Linked DNA regions of Homo sapiens: region 1 is linked to region 2. The links are contacts of gene promoters, found by promoter capture Hi-C in blood cells and fetal thymus (Javierre and others, 2016). All regions are on one chromosome and are shown on one strand. The core of a region is centred on a gene start or on the middle of the fragment in contact, and the rest is flanking DNA. Distances in the headings are between cores, read along the strand shown. Region 1 overlaps PSMA2 (proteasome 20S subunit alpha 2). Region 2 holds the start of BLVRA (biliverdin reductase A).

Region 1 (2,700 bases), core at 177-2,676, 840 kb before region 2:
AGGAAACTTTTTTTTTTTTTTTTGAGACACAGTTATCTTGGCTTACTGCAAGCTCCACCTCCCGGGCTCATGCCATTCTCCTGCCTCAGCCTCCCAAGTAGCTGGGACTACAGGCGCCCACTACGCCCAGCTAATTTCTTTGTATTTTTAGTAGAGATGGGTTTCACTGTGTCAGCCAGGATGGTCTCGATCTCCTGACCTCGTGATCCGCCTGCCTTGACCTACCAAAGTGCTGGGATTACAGGCACGAGCCAACACACCCAGCCAGGAAACTTCTTAAGTATAAATATTTTAACAATCAGGATGTGGTGGCATTATTATAATTTTTAAAACACAGAAAAATCAGAACTTTGCTAAAATCTTTTTCTTATAAGTTAAAACATAACATGTCACTTCCTGCCGATACCAGTGTGGACGGTGCGAAGAGTGGCTGGGTCGTTTCTTCGGTTCTCCCCATCCCCTACTTTCCTCCCTCCATTGTCAACTGTTGCTCACCCTTCCCAGACTCCCCAGCCCCTCCCTAGCTCCTTCCTAATCTCGGTGCCACCTTTTCCTTTTTCTCTGCTCAGCCCGTGTTAGGGTGAAGCCTGGAGGAACCCCGGGCGCTGTACCAGAGGAGAAAAGACAAGGATGACCCTCAGCCCACCAGCCCAATCACTGGGTTCACCACCTCCATAGCAATGAGACTGATGCTGCTCACCTGTTCTGGCCACATATGGCCCGTGGCTGACTTGGCCTTCAGTGGCATCATGCCTTAGGGGCTTTTTTTTCCCTCAAGACAGAATCTTGCTCTGTCGCCCAGGCTGGAGTGCAGTGGTGCAATCTTGGCTCACTGCAAACTCCGCCTCCCAGGTTCAAGTGATTCTCCTGCCTCAGCCTCCCGAGTAGCTGGGATTACAGGCGCGCGCTATCACTCCTGGCTAATTTTTGTATTTTTAGTAGAGACGGGGTTTCACCATGTTGGCCCAGCTGGTCTCGAACTTCTGACCTCAGGTGATCCGCCTGCCTTGGCCTCCCAAAGTGCTGGGATTACAGGCGTGAGCCACTGCGCCTGGCCAGTCTTATGAGTATTTCTAAATCAGTGCTTGCAAAGACGGCAAACCTATGCTATGCCAGGGAGATACAGGAGACTGGATTGGAACAATTTTGGGTCATAAAGATGCTGTCTGGAATGCAACACTGAATAAGGATGCCACCAAAGCAGCCACAGCAGCTGCAGATTTCACAAAGTGTGGGATGCTATCCCAGGAGATGAACTGATGACCCTGGCTCATAAACACATTATCAAGACTATGGATTTCATGCAGGATAGTAATTATTTGTTAACCAGGGGACAGAATAAACTGTTTTGCATATATGACTTGAACAAACCCGAAGCAGAACCTGAGGAAATTAGTGATCACAGCTCTGATATTAAAAAGGCCCTATGGTACAGTGAGGATAAACAGATTCTTTCTTCTGATGACAAAACTGTTAAGACTTTGGGATCATGCTACTATGACAGAAGTGAAATCTCTAAATTTTATTATGTTGGCTAGTAGTATGGAATATATTTCTGAGGGAGAGATTTTGGTAATAACTTATGGCTGATCCAGTGCTTTTGACAGTACAGTAAGTTTGGAACCAATTAAATCCTTTCAAGCTCCTGCAAACATTAACTCTGAATCTCTTCACCTTGAGAAAGAATTTCTTGTTGCAGGTGGTGAAGATGTTAAACTTATAAGTATGATGATAATAGTGGAGAAGAATTAGAATCCTACAAAGGACACTCTGGTCCTATTCACTGTGTGAGATTTGATCCTGATGGAGAACTCTATGCCAGTGGTTCTGAAGATGGAACACTGAGACTGGCAAACTGTGGTAGGAAAAACATATGGCCTTTGGAAATGTGTGCTTCCTGAAGAAGATACTGGTGAGCTGGCAAAGCCAAAGATTGGTTTTCCAAAGACAAGAGAAGAGCTAGAAGAAATTGCTTCAGAGAATTCAGATTCCATCTATTCTTCAACTCCTCAAGTTAAGGCCTGAACATCAAGCATGTGCCACAGACAGCATACAACTGGACTAGAACGAGCAAGCAGAGAAAAGCATCAGCCTTCCAGAGTTACTCTCTGCTTAAGGCAAAAACAGCAATAAATAATGAGGAATATGAATTAGCTCCATTGCTGAAACAACTAACATGGTGTTACCCATAAGTGAAATCTCAAGAGTATCAGATGAAGGGAGGTTGAGTTATCCTCTTGTAGTACAATGGCCTGTCATCTTTTTAATGAATATGTACAAGATAACATCCAACTTCTCTTATTACAATTAAGAGTTCTTGCAGCTGTTTATGTCATTATGGAGAAGAAAAATATATTGGCTTATTTGTCTGACTTTTCCCTTAAAGCAGAATGTCTTTGTTGCTATTGTTTTTTGCTTTGGTTGTAAAGAGGGAATACATGATAAAGTAACTGGTTTAATTTCTTTCATTGTACACTGGTTCTGAACATCTAATTATTTTTAGTTGTCTAAATAAAATGCCTCTGAAACAAAAAATAAAACAAATCATAACATATCATGTAATAACAATGTGAAATCTTTGGAAGACTCATTAATATATAAAAGAAAAATGAAAAAGTGCTTTAAGAGCCTAAGATTAAGTTTACCATTTAAATCCAGGCCTAAGATTTTTAATAACCTTAACGTTACGTGAAAAATGTA
Region 2 (2,700 bases), core at 174-2,673:
GCCTTGCATAAGAAATAGCAGGGAGGCCAGAGTGACTGGAGCAGAGTGAGCCAGTGGGGAGGCAGTAGCAGATGAGGTTGTAGGGGTAACAGAGGAGCAGATCAGGCAGGGCTTTGGGTTTTACTCTGAGTTTGGGAAACCACTGGGAAGGTTTTGGGCAGAGGAGGAATTTGATCTGGCTTTCTTTTTTTAAGGTCACTCTGGCTGCTTTATGGGGACAGGCTGCAGGGATATCAGGGAAGAGACCACTGTCATGACCCAGGTAGCAGATGATGGAGGCAGAGGTAAGAAGTGGTCAGGCTCTGGGTATGCTAGGGAGATCCAACCAACAGAATTTTTGGGCCCTGGAGGTGGGATGTGAGAGAAAGGTTTCTGAAACAGCAAGGTTTCTGGCCTTGACAACTGGAAGATGGAGTTGCCATCGAGATGGTGATGCTATGGGGAAGAGATCAGGGGCACAGATTTGGATGTGTTGAGATTGAAATGTATTTTAGAGATCCAAGAGGAGGTATTAAGGAGGCAGCTGGATAGAGGAGTATGGAGTTCAGGAGGCAGGTCCCGCCTGGAGATAAAAATTCAAAGCCAAGCCTTCTCTCTTTGCACTCAACAAAACCTCACTTAAACAGGCTTGTCAGGTCATGGAATACGGTACTAGAACTCTTTGTTGGGGAAAATGCCAGTCAACCTTACCCGTCAGAACGCTGCCTTTAAGATCAGAGATCTCTTTCCTTCAGCCTAATCCACCCCTCTCCCTGTTTTCTCCCCTAGCCCCACTAGGCTAGAAGCTCCCTGGCTTCTCCCACATCAGGATCCCCAACAAACCCATTCCCAGGTGGATAAGAGCCCAGGCAGTTCCCTAGACCACGTTCACTACTTCCTAGCTACCCAAGAGCAGGACATCGCAGACACCGGCCTCCTGGAATATTCCCTCCGCTCCTCACATTTACAGGAAGGACTCAGGTAAGCCTCGGCGCCAGTTCAGTCGGCCCGGGGCCACTAAATACCAATGGGATCCAGTGGGTTCTACGTGGTGAGTGGGGGGCGGATAAGAGAGATGCGACACCCCCCGGGCCTGCCCCCCCCACGCCGGGGCCAGGCACACCGTGAGGGGGCCAGGCACACCGTGAGGGGGCCCAGCCACTTCCATACGCCCTCCGGTCGGCCGGCACCCACCACCCACCCCTCGCCACCAAGCTGGGTGCAGAGAACAGGGCAGGCGCACGGACGGTTCTTACGGCCCCAGGCGCCAGACCCAGGGCACAGAGGCCAGGATCTCACGCGCGACCGCACGAGGCCGGGACCCTCCCTCCCCTTCCGTCCACTCCCTTCCCCACCGCCTCCGGTCCCCTCCCGGTCTCCGCCACCCCGCTTCGGGGCCCCCGCCCCCCAGCCGGGCAGCCAATCGGAGCTGGGATCCCGCCCCGGTCCGCAAAGCCGGTGGCGCCCGGAGGCTGCACGGAGAGCGGTGCCCGCGTCAGGTGAGGCGCGCGCGGGGAACGGGGGTCGCGCGCAGGGGAGCGGGGGTCGCGCGCGGCTTCCATAGAGCGCTAGGGCCTGAGCTCGAAGCCCCAGGCCCGCAGGAGGCCCGGGCCCGCGGCCGCCAGAGCCGGGACGCAGCCTGGGCGCCGCCTGCCCCGCCCCGCCCCGCCCGGGCCCGGAGTGAGGACGCGGTCGGAGGCCCAGCAGCGCGGGTCCCGGCAAGGGGCTTTCTCAACTACACAAAAGACAGTCTAAAAAATTAAGTCTCCATTTCGGTTAAGACTGCCCGTAGTTTCGGTTTTTATGTAGACCCAAGAGGGCAGGCTCGGCGTCCGCGTGCCGCGTAGTCCGGCGGCTCCAGGAGCGCGAGCGGCTGGGCCCGGGCGTAGCCACCGCAGGGCCGCTAGCTCGGCCGGGACCCGCCTGGGATGCCCTGGGGTCTGCTCCGCTGGGGCGAATCCTGAGGCGCCACGCGAGGCACTTGGCCTCTCCTAGCCCCGCTTTCGTTTTTGGAAACTGGAAACTATCACTTATTTCGTAGACGGTGTGAGGGTTACATGACAGTGTTCTGTAAAGTGCACTCTACATATGAAGTGCTCAGAAATATGGCTAATAATGAGGGTATTTATAAACTACTTAAATTATAAAAAGAATGAGACATCAGACTTACAGTTTTGGATACTAATTTTTTTCACTTAACGTTCATTATGTGATAGGAGTTTTCCATCCTATTATACCGCTGTGCGATCTGATCTTGGGCACGTTAACCAACCTCTTGTTGCCTCGATTTTCTCACCTGTAAAAGTGGGGGTAATCATAATGCTTACTTAGTAGGATAGCCCTGAAGAATAAGTGACTTAGCGAACATAAATAGCTTACAATAGGGTTTTCAGCATGGGAAGGATTCAGTAAATGTTAGCTGTCATCATCACCACCTACAAAGGAAGCAATACTGTGCTGAAAGTTTTTCCATCATTAATGTAATTTCTATAGTACGATTCCCAAGAAGATATTAAAATTATGGAAATAAAGGTATTGGTATATTCCTAATTATTTCCTAAAAGATTGTATTGATAAATATGCTCATCCTTCCCTTAACGGGATGCATTCCAGAAAAACAAGTCAAATGTTAGACAAAGTATCAGAAGGGAAATTCTGTAGCCAGAGAGCTAAAAATTACAATAGGGTCTCTAATTATACTTCAACTTTTTTAGGAATAAT

What was found. Contacts are between HindIII fragments. The CHiCAGO score rates a contact against its expected background, and 5 or more counts as called.
Region 1: a fragment that was not itself captured here is called in contact with the fragment with the promoter of BLVRA in region 2 in 2 of 17 cell types (naive CD8 T cells and total CD8 T cells); the score reaches 6.7 in naive CD8 T cells.

Annotation. Positions count from the first base shown.
Region 1 is chr7:42,918,067-42,920,766 of GRCh38, forward strand. All of the region lies in intron 6 of PSMA2 (proteasome 20S subunit alpha 2), which reads right to left. It also overlaps the pseudogene LOC105375252. Among named protein-coding and RNA genes, the nearest start is that of C7orf25, 7.3 kb to the left of the region's middle. The HindIII fragment of the contact is 3,619 bases long and covers 1-2,700 here.
Region 2 is chr7:43,757,257-43,759,956 of GRCh38, forward strand. BLVRA (biliverdin reductase A) reads left to right here and starts at 1,424. Exons shown (of 8, transcript NM_000712.4): 1 at 1,424-1,478. It also overlaps the pseudogene LOC107986727. RefSeq lists a cis regulatory region at 1-107 and silencers at 1,129-1,518, 1,529-1,848. The HindIII fragment of the contact is 5,653 bases long and covers 1-2,700 here.